3 separate regions of the Homo sapiens genome follow, and regions 1 and 2 are each linked to region 3. The links are contacts of gene promoters, found by promoter capture Hi-C in blood cells and fetal thymus (Javierre and others, 2016). All regions are on one chromosome and are shown on one strand. Each heading gives the region's core, a stretch centred on a gene start or on the middle of the fragment in contact. The rest is flanking DNA. Distances are from core to core; before and after follow the strand shown. Region 1 has its middle 27 kb from the start of TMED10. Region 2 has its middle 6.8 kb from the start of TMED10. Region 3 holds the start of LINC01220 (long intergenic non-protein coding RNA 1220).

Region 1 (2,887 bases), core at 75-2,574, 91 kb after region 3:
ATTCAAACAACTGAAGTTTGGCAAACCCTTTCCTAGTTATTCATTCTTATGAGTCCCCTCACTATAGGAATGGGGAGAAGCCAGTTGGCACCGTAAGTCCTATTCGCCCACCTGTACCACACTCCCACTCCCAAAGATCACCATTCCTTTTAAACTCCAGCAATTACTGAAAAGTCAATACTGTTCTTCAGTGTCCTAGAGAAAACTCCCAGAACCTGAGGTTTATCACATGCCAAGGCTGAATGAGCCCATCAGCAGGACCAAAGGGTGGAGTTGGGAGGAGAAACTGCAAAATGAGCCTGGCTCCAGGAACAGCATGTATTCAGTACAGAGCCATAAGTTCAGAAATACCAGACTTGGGTGTGTTTGTTATGGAGACTTACTATAGTGAAAGGAAAAGCTGACAAAGTCATCTCTCGAGTCCCTGTCAAAAGCCACAAGCCCCAGACACACTAACAAAATAAGGCGACGGTTAGGAGCCAACATACCTCTCTGTCCTTGTTTTCATTCCAAAGACCTCAGAAGAGATCTTGCAGATATATGACTCTAAATGTAATGAGTACAAATTGCAAGTACTCAAAAGCTAAGCTTTGATAATGCTTAACTGCAAGAGCAAAGAGATAAGATGAGACACTGGACTAGAGGACATTTAGAAAAAACGGTCTAATAGATCAATGGTTTCCAAATGCCCATCTACACAGACCAGTGTCTTCTATGGAGGATGGCTGTGTGTTTTAAAATTGTAGATTCCCAGTCACTTCCCAGAGAGGATTCTGGTGTAGGCTGGAGATGAACTCCTGGGGTCCCAACTGCCCCAGATGGCTCAATCGAGTTTACAAACTACTTTTTGAGCCCTTGTGCCTCATATCTGGTTACTTCGTTCCATTCTCCGCCAGCCCAGCCTGGTTCATTCCTTCCACAATGGTTGACATCTAATAGCTTTCTAACACATCTCCTGCCTCTCTCTGTCTCTGTCTCTCTCTCTCTCTTTCTTTCTTTTTTTTTTTTAGACGGAGTTTTGCTCTTGTCACCCAGACTGGAGTGCAATGACGTGGTCTCAGCTCACTGTGACTTCCACCTCCCAGGTTCAAGTGATTCTCCTGTCTCAGCTTCCCAAGTAGCTAGGACTGCAGGCACGTGCTACCAGGCCCAGCTAATTTTTGTATTTTTAGTAGAGACGGGGTTTCACCATGTTGGCCCAGCTGGTTTCGAACTCTTGACCTCAAGTGATCTGCCCCCCTCAGCCTCCCAAAATGCTGGGATTACAGGCATGAGCCACCACGGCTGGCCCTCTCTTTTTTTTTCTTTTTTTTTTTTGGCCGGGCGCGGTGGCTCACACCTGTAATCCCAGCACTTTGGGAGGCCAAGGCGGGCGGATCACGAGATCAGGAGATCGAGATCATCCTGGCTAACATGGTGAAACCCCGTCTCTACTAAAAATATGAAAAAATTAGCCGGGCGTGGTGGCGGGCACCTGTAGTCCCAGCTACTTGGGAGGCTGAGGCAGGAGAATGGTGTGAACCTGGGAGGTGGAGCTTGCAGTGAGCCGAGATCACGCCACTGCACTCCAGCCTGGGTGACAGAGCGAGACTCCGTCTCAAAAAAAAAAAAAAAAACTCCATTTAAAAAAGAAAAAAAAGAAAAACAAAGGAAAAAGAGAAAGCAATGTCCAGTGGCTACTAGAGCAGACATGTCTCGTCTGTCTGGCCAGCATCTGTTCCTTTGGAATTTGTCTCCTTTTCTCTGTTGTGCAGAATTCTGGAGGTCAGCCAATCCCAGGTCCCATGAAGGGGGCACATGACCTAAGCTAAGCCATTCAGACTCACCTGGGCATTTGAATTTTGAACAGAGATTCAGGGATGGGAAGTTTGAAGTTGAATCATGAGTTAATCCCCAGGAGATCCCCTCTTGCCTGGTCAGATTTTCCTTCAATTCTATAAACTCCCCAATATCCTTCCTTCAGATGGCTTTTTTTTTCCTGTTAACTCAGAATTCGTTCTTATCTCCTGAAACTGCAGAGCCCTGATATACTTCTCCATTGTCCATAGCATGAAGCTTACAAAGTTCTCACCCTATATTACAGATTCTCCCCATTCTGTTTATGTCTCACATGACGGCTCTGCCCTAACTAAGCTTTAAGCCCCTATGTGATCTTCTGTGAGCCAGCAATTAGACAGTCTGCATTTTATAAGCAAGGAGGATATATAACTCATGTCTATAAGGCCTTGAGGTCCTGTGCTAGATGGCATGCTATGTTTTGATCAGATTTAATTGAGAACTAGCTCTGATATTTTATTTATGTATTTATTTATTTATTGTAGAGATGCGTAGTCTTGCCATCTTGCCCAGGCTGGTCTTGAACTCCTGGGCTCAAGCAATCCTCCCACTTCAGCCTCCCAAAGTGCTGGGATTATAGGTGTGAGGCCCCATGCCTGGCCCTACATATTCTAAAATAAGAAAAGGTGTTCTGCTATTTAGAAATGACTGCCAAATCATCATTCTTTTCTTGGGTTTGTGCTACTGTCCAACGAGCGCATAGTGAGGGCAGTACTGCTAACACATACCAAAAAAAAAAAAGCAAAAATAAACATAAAAAACAGAAGTACTTTCCAGAGACTAGGATTACAGACAACCTGGATATAAACTAAGTTCTGGAGGTATTTTAAAAAGAGTATTCTAAAGAGTATATTCTAGGCCAGGCACGGTGGATCACACCTGTAATCCCAGCACTTTGGGAGGCCGAGGTGGATGGAACTCCTGAGGTCAGGAGTTTGAGGCCAGCCTGGCCAACATGGTGAAACCCCATCTCTACTAAAAATATATAAACTAGCCAGATGTGGTGGTGCATGCCTGTAATTCCAGTTACTTGGGAGGCTGAGGTGAGACA
Region 2 (3,017 bases), core at 69-2,568, 110 kb after region 3:
TGATCTCACGTGATCCACATGCCTCAGCCTCCCAAAGTGCTGGGATTATAGGCATGAACTACCACACCCGACTGATAAAAATCTTGTTTTTTCAAGCAAAATGAGTTGGGAGAGGCTAGTGGATCTTTTACTAGCCTCTGAGTGAAAGTAGAGAAAGAGTGCCCAAGAATTTAAAACTTCTTAGTAGAGTGGAAACTAAATCGTAAATACCAAGTTTTATCAAATGTAATGACAAAAATTGGTCTGCAGTTAGGAGCTCTCATTTCTATTTTCAGCTCTAACACTGACTCATTGTATGACTTGAGGCAAGTCACTAAGCAGTTTCAGACCTCAGCTTCTCCATATAAAAAATGGCAATTAAAATGTTGTACCTACTACATAGAGGAACTAGCATTTATGGAGCAACTGCTCTATGTTCATCTCGTGCTAGGAGCTTTATAATATGTTGTATTTCATTTATTCGATAAGTATTTGTTGAGCACCAACTATGGACAGGATATTGTGCCTGATCTCAGGGAAAGATCAGGCAAAAATCAAAGCCCTTGCTCTTCTGAGCTTAAATTCCAGTAGGGTGGGGTGATAATAAACAAGAAAGATATATATATAAGATACTTTCAAACAGTGACAAGAGCCATGTAGATAATAAAACCAGGGCCGGGTGCAGTAGCTCACACCCATAATCCCAGCACCTTGGGAGGCAGAGGCTGGAGGATTGCTGGAGCTCAGGAGTCTGAGACAAGCCTGGGAAACAGAGTGAGACCTCATCTCTACTAAAAAAAAAAAATTAGCCAGGTGTGGTGGCGTGTGCCTGTAGTCCCCAGCACTGGGGAGGCTGAGGTGGGAGAATCGCTTGAGCCAGGGAGATGGAGGCAGCACTGAGCTATGATGGCGCCGCTGCACTCCAGCCTGGGTTACAGAGCAAGACCCTGTCCCTAAAAAAAAAAAAAAAAAAAAAAGAGCCGGGCGCGGTGGCTCACACCTGTAATTCCTGCACTTTGGGAGGCCAAGGCAGGCAGATCACTTGAGGTCAGGAGTTCAAGACCAGCTTGACCAACATGGTGAAACCCCATCTCTACTAAAAATACAAAAATTATCCAGGCACAGTGGCAAGTGCCTGTAGTCCCAGCTACTTGGGAGGCTGTGGCATGAGAATCGTTTGAACCCAGGAGGCGGAGGTTGCAGAGAGCCGAGATCATGCCACTGCACTCTAGCTTGGGCAACAGAGGGAGACCTCCATCTCAAAAAAAAGAAAAAAAAAGAGAGAAAAATAAAGATAATAAAACCAGATAATGTGGTAGAAAGTAACCCAAGGGGGGGGATACTTATGTGGGGTGGTGACATTCAGTTGGGACCCAAATGATGAGAAGCAGTCAGCAGAGTATATGAGACAACAGCTGAGGAGAGCTCCAGGTAGGCAGCAAGGTCCAAGGCTCTGATGCAGGTAGGGGCTTAAACTGTTTGGAAGGCCAGGTAAGACATTAATGGGTAGGATAATCACAGAGAGGCAGGCATGAGCCAGAACACAGTGGCCTCAGCCTTCAGGCTGTGGCTGGGTGTTTGGATTTTAATCTAGTTGATCTGCTTTACTTAAAAAAAAAAAAAAATCAGAGAAAAAAAGAAAAAAAAATCATTCTGGGTATGTTAATGAGTACGATTATTGTCAGGCAATAATAAAAGCAGAGATAACCATTAAGGAGGCTGTTGTCTTGTTTGCTTAACTGACAGAAATAAATTTTTCTGTAAAAGGTCAGATAGCAAATATTTCAGGCTTGCAGGTCACTTGAGCTCTCTATTGCACATTCTTCTCTTCTTTCTCCTCCTCCTTTTTTTTTTTTAACAGCCCTCAAAAAATGTAAAAGCCATTCTTAGCTCTTGCACAATAGAAAAACAGGAGGTTGCATGCCAGATTTGGCCTGCCTAGCTAGGCAGCAGTTTATGGACCCCTAGCTTATAGAGAAGTAGAAACTGACCAGCATACATTTTAGGACCCAATCCAGAACTGACGGGACTTGATGAACTGACTCTGTCTGGGGAGAAGGTTAGTTAAAGAGGAAACAAGAATGGTGTCATTGACTAGGCAGAAGGTGGTGCCATTTACTGAGATGCGGAAGAAGTAGATTTGGGAGCGGGGTGGGGGAAGAGGGGAGAAGGGAAATCAAGAGTTAAGTATGAATTGCCTATTAGTCCTTCAAGTGGAGATGTCAAGTAGGGAGCTCGATATAGACTCTGGAGCTTATGAGAGAGGTCAGGAGATCCATGTTTGGGAATTATCAGTCTACAGACACATTTAAAGTCATGGGATTGGGCTGGGGATGGTGGCTCATGCCTGTAATCCTAGCACTTTAGGAGGCCAAGAAGGGTGGATCACCTGAGGTCAGGAGTTCGAGACCAGCCTGACCAATATGGTGAAACACCATCTCTACTAAAAATACAAAAATTAGCTGGGCTTGGTGTCGTGCTCCTGCAGTCCCAAGTCCCAGTTACTCGGGAGGCTGAGACAGGAGAATTGCTTGAATCTGAGAGGCAAAGGTTGCAACGAGCCGAGATTGCGCCACTGCACTACAGCCTGGAGGACAGAGCACGATTCCATCTCAGAAAAAATAAAAAATCTAAGGCTGGGCGCGGTGGCTCACACCTGTGATCCCTGCACTTTGGGAGGCCGAGGTGGGCAGATCACCTGAGGTCAGGAATTCGAGACCAGCCTGACCAACATGGAGTAACCCTGTCTCCACTAGAAATACACAATTAGCCAGATGTGGTGGTGCATGCCTGTAATCCCAGCTACTCGGGAGGCTAAGACAGGAAAATCACTTGAACCCTGGAGGCGGAGGTTGCAGTGAGCTGAGATTGCACCATTGCACTCCAGCCTGGGCAACAAGAGTGAAACTCTGTCTCAAAAAAATAAAAATAAATAAAAAATATAAAAATAAAGTCATGGAATTGTATGACATCACCTGGAATGCAGCAGAAGTTTCCAGGACCAGGTCCTGGGGGACTCTAACATTTAGAAGACCCAT
Region 3 (3,001 bases), core at 59-2,558:
ATGGCGTTCTTTAAGAGCCCTGAAGTCAATATTTAGCCTAAATGTACAACCCACCAGCTGAGCCAGGCAACAGGGTTCTGAAGCACAGGAAATTAGAAGCACCTAGGCGATGTGGAACACTATTTGAAGCTAGATATCCTGACTTTTATCAGTTTCTAACTAGCTGTGCAAGTTTGGATGGTCGAACCAACTTCTCTGAGCTTTAATTTCCCTGTTGGCGAAATAGGTTAAATTAGATTAAAAGTCTCCGATGTGACTTCCAGCTCTGAAACTCTGGAAAACACACACTCCTTCAGCCAGAGGAACTGGGGAATCTAGGGGGCAGGGATGGGGGTGGGAGGATGGTGACAGGCGTCTTGAAGGATTAACCCCACGCTTCTCCTCGCAATTGCAATCGGCTCCCCAGCAGCGGCCACTGCGGCACTGCCTGCCCCACCCCCGCCCTCTGGGCCCGGCGGTACACACCCACGGCTCCCTCAGAGACTTCTGGAATCTCGCTGGATTTCTCCCAGGAATGCTTATTGCCCTTTAGATCTGCAAATCGCTTTACATCAGCAACCCTGCCGCGCGATTATTAATCATCTCAATATTCTCCCCCATCCCCTACCCTCCCCCTCGCCCGGCCTGGAAGAGGAATTGCAGGGGTCCGGATTTATGAAGGTGATTCGTATTATTCATTCAATAATCAGTTAACTAAAGTTCATTAAGCGCCTAATAGGAGCAAGGTGCAGAGACACACAAATCCAATCACCACAGGGGGCAGAACTGTAGGGGGTCGATGCTCAAAGAACTTCACTGATATTCCAGTTATGTCCTGGGGAGGGGGTGGTTAGAGGGTGATGGAAAAGCTCCCCTCACAAGCCTGATGACAGTGCTGCAACCATTATGGACCACCCCCACGGTTCGTTTTATCATGCCAGGAAAAGGAAAATGGCCTTCCCAAGGTCACTTATCCCCCGAGGGGCAACACTGACCCCAGAACCGCCGTCTTCAAAGCTTTCCACTGTGCCATGAAGGAAAATTTTGAGTTGAAGCCTATAAAATACAGCGTTGGGCGAGAGATGGCATGATTTCCGGGCACAGAGTGAGAAAATCGTGATCCCAGATCACCCACCCACAACAAACGAGACCGCCCCAAATCTTGACTGCAGCTACAACCAGCAGACGCACAGGAATGCTGGAAACAGCTCATTCATCCATCGCGGCGCCCTCTCTCTGGGCCCCCAGCGCCCCTGCCCTTGCCTCCGCCTGGGTGGGTCCCGGGACAGGAGGCGGGGGTCTCGTGGCTCGGAGCCTTCGCCCAGCATTCCAGGGGCGGGGCAGGGACCGGGGGCGGGGCGCGGCGGGAGTCCCGCCCACAGCCTACCCCGGGCCGGCGGCGCAGTGGCTGAGCCAAATATGGGCAGAGCGGAAGCGGCGGGCCGGCGTCACGGCGCCGGGTGGGGGCCGCGCTGCGGGGCGGTGACGGGAGTCGCTGACGGCGCCTACGTGTCACCGTGGAAACCAAACAGTAAACAGAGGACTCGCGAGCTCCTGGCACCGTCTGGCCCTGCGACCTGCCCTGGAGCAAAGGGCCGGAAGCTGGGAAGGGCCAGGAGAAACCTTGGCCTGGCCGACGAGGACAGGGGCGCGGCAAGGGTGTAGAGAGGGCGGTGGAGGGGACGCTGAGAGAGCACTCCCAAACGTCCCTCCCTGAGGTCCCTGGAAGCCGGCTCTCCCTCTGCCCACGGGCCAGCAGGGGCTGGTCAGGAGCGGAAGGAGGCCCTCCTGTCCCTTCTTTTTCTTTTCCTTTGTTTTTTTTTTTTTTTTTTTTTTTTTTTTTGAGATGGAGTCACGCTCTATCGCCCAGGCTGGAGTGCACTGGCGCGATCTCTGCTCACTGCAACCTCTGCCTCCCGGTTCAAGCGATTCTCCCGCCCCAGGCTCCCAAGTAGCTGGAACTACAGGCGCGCGCCACCGTACCCGGCTAATTTTTTACATTTTTAGTAGAGACAGGATTTCACCACGTTGGCCAGGTTGGTCTCCAACTCCTGACCTCAGGTGATCCGCCCGCCTCGGCCTCCCAAAGTGCTGGGATTACCGCGCCCGGCCTCTCCTGTCCCTTCTGAGGGCCTCCGTGCCTGCAAGGTTGTTGCGGATACTGATTTTGCTTTGTTTTTCCTTTCTAATGGCTAAGAGTTCAGGCATTGAAGCCACACTGCCTGGACTCTAATTCCAGCGCTGCCACTCCAGTTGGATGATCTTGAGCAGACCTCTGCGCCCCAGACTATATTATTATCTACAAAAATAAGGATAATAGCAGGACCTACCTTTAAGAGTAGATGAGGACTTTTAAAATGAGTGTGTGTGTGTGTGTGTGTGTGTGTGTGTGTGTGTGTGTTTGGAACAGTGTCAAGCATGTTGTGAGCCCCAAGTTAGTGTTAAGTGTTTATTTTTATTCCCAGGCAGCACAAGAGAAACTTACGTAGTATTAGTAGTGCATCTCCTAAATCTACTACTGACGTAATGTTTTTTTTCTCGAGTCTTCTTTAGATTTAAAATAAAAGGGGGCCGGGCGCTGTGGCCCACGCCTGTAATCCCAGCACTTTGGGAGGCCAAGGCAGGAGGATCACTTGAACCTAGGAGTTCTAGACCAGCCTGGGCAACATAAGGAGACCCCGACTCTACAAAAATAAAAAAAAATAGCTGGGCATGGTGGTGCACACCTGTGATCCCAGCTACTTGGGAGGCTGAGGTGGGAAGATCTTGGGCCAGGGCAGTCAAGGCTGCAGTGAGCCTTGATTGCAGTCACTGCACTCCAGCCTGAGTGACAGGGAGACCCTCTCTCAAAAATAAATAAGCAAAAGGAATTATCTATTTTAAAGATAATATTCAAATCTAGTAAAAATATTTAGTTATTAACTAAAATGTGCATTTGTCAAATAAAAACATGGCAAAACACTGTATCACACTGCTTCGCAATTTTAAATTTTAAACACGAAAACTCCAAATGGTTACATGG

What was found. The method cuts DNA at HindIII sites, captures the fragments that hold promoters and counts their contacts. A CHiCAGO score of 5 or more calls a contact.
Region 1: a contact is called between a fragment that was not itself captured here and the fragment with the promoter of LINC01220 in region 3, in 6 of 17 cell types (total B cells, naive B cells, total CD8 T cells and 3 more). The highest score is 7.9, in total B cells.
Region 2: a fragment that was not itself captured here is called in contact with the fragment with the promoter of LINC01220 in region 3 in 16 of 17 cell types (total B cells, naive B cells, monocytes and 13 more); the score reaches 20.8 in total B cells.

What each region holds. Positions count from the first base shown.
Region 1 is chr14:75,201,777-75,204,663 of GRCh38, reverse strand. It overlaps the pseudogene RNU4ATAC14P. Among named protein-coding and RNA genes, the nearest start is that of TMED10, 27 kb to the right of the region's middle. The HindIII fragment of the contact is 1,467 bases long and covers 591-2,057 here.
Region 2 is chr14:75,181,906-75,184,922 of GRCh38, reverse strand. No RefSeq gene overlaps it. Among named protein-coding and RNA genes, the nearest start is that of TMED10, 6.8 kb to the right of the region's middle. The HindIII fragment of the contact is 3,996 bases long and covers 1-3,017 here.
Region 3 is chr14:75,292,711-75,295,711 of GRCh38, reverse strand. LINC01220 (long intergenic non-protein coding RNA 1220) reads right to left here and starts at 1,308. Exons shown (of 3, transcript NR_038421.1): 1 at 1,171-1,308; 2 at 975-1,035. RefSeq lists a silencer at 1,071-1,530 and an enhancer at 1,601-1,740. The HindIII fragment of the contact is 10,176 bases long and covers 999-3,001 here.